2 separate regions of the Homo sapiens genome follow, and region 1 is linked to region 2. Evidence: promoter capture Hi-C in 16 types of primary human blood cells and fetal thymus (Javierre and others, 2016). All regions are on one chromosome and are shown on one strand. Each heading gives the region's core, a stretch centred on a gene start or on the middle of the fragment in contact. The rest is flanking DNA. Distances are from core to core; before and after follow the strand shown.

What was found. Contacts are between HindIII fragments. The CHiCAGO score rates a contact against its expected background, and 5 or more counts as called.
Region 1: a contact is called between a fragment that was not itself captured here and the fragment with the promoter of PLD1 in region 2, in 3 of 17 cell types (M1 macrophages, neutrophils and M0 macrophages). The highest score is 7.3, in M1 macrophages.

Annotation. Positions count from the first base shown.
Region 1 is chr3:172,070,213-172,073,365 of GRCh38, reverse strand. All of the region lies in intron 1 of FNDC3B (fibronectin type III domain containing 3B), which reads right to left. Among named protein-coding and RNA genes, the nearest start is that of FNDC3B, 32 kb to the right of the region's middle. The HindIII fragment of the contact is 1,412 bases long and covers 696-2,107 here.
Region 2 is chr3:171,808,762-171,811,818 of GRCh38, reverse strand. It overlaps PLD1 (phospholipase D1), which reads left to right and starts at 1,336. Exons shown (of 27, transcript NM_002662.5): 1 at 1,336-1,420. The HindIII fragment of the contact is 4,859 bases long and covers 43-3,057 here.

The DNA.
Region 1 (3,153 bases), core at 152-2,651, 260 kb before region 2:
GTCTCTACATTCGAACTGTTACACTTGAGAATTACAAATGGAAAGTGGGCAAACAGGACCTGCTGAAAACACCCCAACCACCATGTTCATTCCCAATGTTGGGAGGAACCTTCTCTCCAAACCTTTCAAAGCAGAGTTCCAGGCCCAGTGTTTAACACAGTAGCTGAGAAATAGCACCTGGCTATAGTACTGCAAGTCCTTCACATAAATGCTAACAATAACAGTTCAATCCCATCAACAAAGAAAATGTCTGTGTTATAACTGCTAAATGAGAGGGCTGCAGACATGTTTAATTATGTCTGCAGGGTGGCTATGGTCCAATACCTGCCACCATCTGGAGGCTTTGCTTGCTTCCATTTCAGAGCCCCACCATGGCTGGTGGAAACAACTACTCCGGCCCTTTTCATCAACACAAAGAAAAAATTAAAATAATTAGACTTAAGTGCCACATAAAGGCTTAGATGAAAGCACATCATAAGAGGCATCAGTGTCACCGTTTATGTGGCCTCAGTGTCATTTGAAATGAAATCTAGCTTCATTACCACTGAGTTTTCTTGATGTATTTTCATAGATGGGAGCTCTGTCAACATCAGGCTGTAGGAGAAAGATAAAGAGTTAAACACTTGCTTCTTAATGGCTGCTTTTGGCCCACAAAGTCCATTTTACTATCTTATCATCACGCCTAATGTTAAGCTTGACCAAGAAGCTGGACTCTTTACAAAGCAAGAACTCATCTACAAGGCTGAAAATCATGCGGGAATGTCAAAGCAGTTTTTGCTTGGCTACAAAGGAATTAACAAGAGGATGCCTCCAGATGCGGTAGACTGTGGATTTCCCAGGTTGGTGATCAAACAGGATTTTGTTGTTAGGCATCACAGTTTTAAACATTCAATTATCCACTTTGTAAAAATTTCACCTTTATTAACATTATTACTATTTCATGACACAACCATTCACTGACAACCCTAACGAGGTCAAGATACTGATAGCCACAAAATGCCAAGATATTGTCATTACCCCAGGAAACGCAAACTACAAATTCTCCCAGGTCTCTCAAACTCTATAGCCTCTCTGTCCAGTACTAGAACCACTAGCTACATGTAACTATTTAAATTTAAATTACTTAAAATTAAATAAAACCTTGAATTCTATTTCTCAGTCACACTAGCCACATTTGAGTAATCAACAGCCACATGTGACTAATGGGCATACGCATACTAGATAACGCGGGTATTTCCATAATTTCAACAATTCTATTGGACAGCACTGCTGTAAAATGCCGTATTTTCATTGAAGAAAATGAAGGATGAGTTTCCGACATATGAACTACTAGTATTTAACCAAAGGAGGCACTCCAGCAGAGTTGTTAAGGGCCAGTACTCATGAACTCAACTGTTACAATTCTGACCCTGGCTTGACCACTTAGCACTGGGATTGGAGCCAGTTACTTCACTCTCCATGTCTCAGTTTCTATCTGTAAAACAAGGATAAATACAACATCTATCCTCGTAAGACCATGGTAATGAGAAAATGACTTCATACGGAAGTGCTCGCTATGTTAATTTTCACTGTCATTATTACTAAGCCCTACAATATGCTTCAAAGCCCCCAAAAATGTGCATACCCTTTTTTAGCTAATAAGTATTTTGTTCCTTTGAATGTGTGTGACAACCAGCCTCCATGCTGTCTTGAGGTATTTGAGAGAAAAACTAAGATTCACTAGCCACAATCTGACTTATAAATCTGACCACCTTTCATAAGACTCTTCACAGAGAATAAAAAAAAATTAATTCTGATTTTATTTCACTATTTTTAACAAAATAAAAATTTTAGTGAATCAATTAATGGACTATATACACATATAAACCAGGTTAGTTTTTCCAAGTCAGGCTAAATTCATACCATTAAGGTGTATAAATATATATATACCTAAAGATCCATGAGCCCATAAAACCATTTACTTATTCTATAAATCCTTAAGACTTTGCCTTAATAATCACCTGCAATTAGCAAATACTTTGCTTGAATGGAAACCTGCTATTAAAGTTATATCCAACTCAATGAAAATTCCAAATTAGTTGAGTCTAAACTAACGATTGAGTAAGCTTAGGGTATACTATATTTAGCCTATTTGAAATAGCTGGGAAATATAATGACTGAAAACACATAAAACTGAAGAACAGTGTGTTTCTACACAATAGTTTTAAAGTTTATGAAGTGTCTTATTTTTTAATTGAATAATTAAGTCTGAAAAATAGACTAATTTTTAGCACTATCAAAACACGCATTTGTTACTGTGAATAATTTTTTCCACATATAAGAAAAAAAATTTTGTCAGCCAAAACCAGTAACCTTGAAAAATGCTGATTAGTTAGAAATTGCATAATCCTGACCAATTTTTGCAGCAAAAATGCCTGTATTTTTCCTGAAAACTTTTTGTTTTAAATTAGATGAAAATATATTTCCGAAAGAACTTATCTGAAAAAAATACTGAAATATTGAAGGATGAAATAATATGCCTGAGATTTGCTTCAGAATATTACAGCAAGGAGCAGAGAATGAAAACGGGTAAAGATGAAACAAGACTGGCACGAGCTGATTGATTGTCAAGGCTGGGTAATAAGTCCAGGGGGATCCACTACTATTCTCTACTTTTGTCTATGTTCAAATTTTTTTCATAAATTACAATGTTTTTAAAAAGCTCATCTAAGAAAAGTGTAAGGTGTTTTTGGCTTAAAGTAAAAGGTAAATGCTAAATATGTGATAGCAAAGATACATTAGTTTCACAGTCAGTAGCCGGAGTGCTAGGATTCTGCTCTTCTCCCCTCGTCAGCCACTACAGACAGCAGGATTTACGATTATCCCAAACAACTGTATGTCCAGGGGAGTGTTGATCCTTTCATGCGACCTGGTTTTGGATCTTGTTTATCTCTTTCTTCACCAATTCCAGAGAAAGAAAACCACAGGGTAGATTGGCTAACACACTCCGGAAATAGCCAAGGGTCTTATTTTGATATCATAATTCTTGAGTCCAAGATGTACCCTATTTTTTAAGACTTTCGAAAGGTTGCACTCTATTGACAGATCTCAGTTTAGCACCAGAACATCTAAAATTGCAGTTACGGTAACAGGATGATTTAATCCCCTAATAAC
Region 2 (3,057 bases), core at 87-2,586:
GTGTGCACAAGACTTATCAGACCATCTGTGACTAATAAAGCTTGAGAAAGAGGGGAGGAGAGAGGGTATTCTGCCTTCCAGTAACATGCTTGTCTGAAACTTACTAAACTCCTCTTAGGCAATACTCTGCTCAGAGAGTCATGTGTTTAATTGTAAAAATCTGTCAGTATCATAGGATTCAAAAGACATCAATCATTTATGTCAACAAGGAAAGAGTGAGGGCTGTGTGACTCTTCTATCATTAGGAAAAGATGTGCTCAAGAGACAAAAATGTGGTCTAAGGAGGGCTGAGCAACTGTAGGTTACAGGAAAACTGAGTTCCAGACTATAATTTGGCCCCCCTCCCCTAATTTGGACTGGTATATTATATTTTTCATTTCATGCAATGCCATGTGTGCAGTAAGACATTATGTAACTTGGTCAGTCGCAGTTGTGTAATATCCACTAAATGCTTTAAAGTGGCTGACGTTATTAGCAGTTTGGTGCATGGGGAGGCCATTGCTTCCCCTGGCTTTGGCGGGATGCAATATCGTGTAATGAGGTTGGAACTGGCCTATATTCAAAATTACATTCCCAAAGGGCTGCTATTCAAGCCACATGACAACTGGTTCTCTTTTTCTTAAGACTTTATTCTAAGTGGACTGAAAACAGCAAAATTGCCGTGTTTGAACGGTTCCATAGGTGGAATGGGTCTTTTCCCTGTTTTGCTCCCAATTTATTATTTTATGCTAAGATTTCTGAATTATAACCAGTTTTAGAGACATCGGGACACAAATTCCCGTCCCCCTCCATCTAAGCTGTGTGACCTCGGGCTGGTTCTGAGCCTTCATTTCCTTACCTGTAAATTGGCGATAACACTTCCCTAAGGAGGTGCAAGAAGGCTTATAAAGACTCCAGCAAAGCTCCAGTCTCTTAATTATGTCACCTCAGGCAAGTTATTTAGCCGTTTGATTTGCTGATTCCTTACTTATAAGTTGGACCAGTTGTGGCTACTATCCGCAGTAGTCGAAGAATAGATATCATAGGCAAAGCTCCGGGAAAGGTGGCTGGTCCTTGGCGGCTCGAGAGGACCTGATAATGGTCCTAATAGCGAGCATTCCCTAGGGTGATGCGGTCGAGTTATGAAACTTTGGGAAAAGAGAACAAGGAACGCGGGCGATCAGAGGCCCAGTCGCGAGACCTGCCCCGCTGGGGCCTCCAGCCGGCACCGCGACGCCCCGGGACCTGGCACCGCCTCGCTCCACCCCTGCGAATCCGGGGCGAATCCGGGCGGAGAGTTCCTGCCGGCCGCGCAGCGCAGAGCCCCCTCCGGCCCGCCCTCTCTCCCTCCCTCCCGCTGAGCTCCAGCTGTGCCAGAGGCACCCGAGCCCTGAGAGTCCGCCGCCAACGCGCAGGTGCTAGCGGCCCCTTCGCCCTGCAGGTAGGAGCCGCGCCGAGACCCGGATCACCGGGCGCCCGTGGGAGCCGGGTTTCCACTGCCCTCGCCCTCCGTCCCTCCTCCGCCCAACCTGGGCAGCTGGCCGCTCCCCGCCCAACTTGGACGGGATTTCAGCGAGTGAGTCGGCGGCGGACTCCCTAGCGATCCCCAAGGGCCTCCCTCGCACGCCTTCGGGTGGAATTCCTGCAGGGTGAAAGCTGACAACTCTGGCACGCACTTTTGCCGCGCGGGCGGCTGCCTGGAGCGCAGAGCCGCGCAGGCTCAGGCTGAAGCCCAGGCGTCCTCTGCAGGATGCACCGCCTCGCCGCCACAGGGCTTCGGGTGCAGTGTGTGTGGTGTCCCCAGGTCATCCGGGCGCCCTTGGTTCGGGTGCGCGGTGGCATGACTGGGCTGGTGGGGGCGATGGGACCGGCATCCCGTACCAACCAGGAAGTGCCGCGTCCCAAGGCTTCGAGCCCAGCCCGCAGAGCACGGTCCTGGGGGTGTGATCACAGCTGCTGACCGCGGCTCCCGCCGTGTGATGTGACCACTCGGAGGTGGGGCGAGGGGGCCGGGGGCCAGCAGCAGGGAGTGTGTAAAAGGTCTTCTTCCTCACAATACGATTGAAGGTGTTTGGGACGTAGGGCTCAGATCCAGGAGTGCCGTCCTCCAAGCCTTCCATAGGATTTTGTGACGCCCTTGAGAACCGCCCTTGTAGACTCAGTCCTGAACTACCGCCACGCCTGTATTTGCTCCTCCTCATCTCGGATTATTGCTTTCTTTACTTCCTCTGTGAAGCACTAAATACTAGTAGCTTTTTAAGAACAGACCACAACAGTTTCTTCGTTTGACCATTACTAAGTCTGCCTCCAAAATGGGGAGTTCCGTTAACTTTATCAGCCAGCCCTGCCAATTTTAGTTAAGATAAGCCTTCGTGGGCCTCCAAAGGCCTCTGAGAGACTAGGTACCCAGAGACCTCTGAGGTATGTTAAATGGTTTAGTTCGTGGTGGTGCAATGAAAACTTAAAGAAGGAAAGGAATCTGCAATTTGAACTGTTAACAGACCCCACATTTACACACTGCCTATTTGAATAAGAATCTCTTTCAGTATTAAATGTTTTGTGACACACAAATGAATTTGTACACAGTCTTTTAGCTTGAATTTGTAGACAGCCTTTAAATGTTGTTTGGGGATCTTTGGACTAATTGTATAAGCGCTCAGTCTGGCTTCTCAAGAACCAGTACAGTTAACAATCCATATAAAAAGTTGGAGTGCTGCCTGGGCGCGGTGACTCACGCCTGTAATCCCAGCACTTTGGGAGGCTGAGGCGGGCAGATCACCTGAGGTCAGGAGTTTGAGACCAGCCTGGCCAACATGGTGAAACCCCGCCTCTACTAAAAATACAAAAATTAGCCAGGCGTGGTGGCACACGCCTGTAATCCCAGCCACTCGGGAGGCTGAGGCAGGAGAATCGCTTGAACCCGGGAGGCGGAGGTTGCAGTGAGCCGAGATGGAGCCATTGCACGCCAGCCTGGGCGACAGGGCAAGAATCTGTCTCAAAAAAAAAAAAAAAAAAAAAAAAAAATTGAATGCTAAGGCTTTGAGGAAAAAGTGTCTTTACAATGTTTGTCCCTGATGA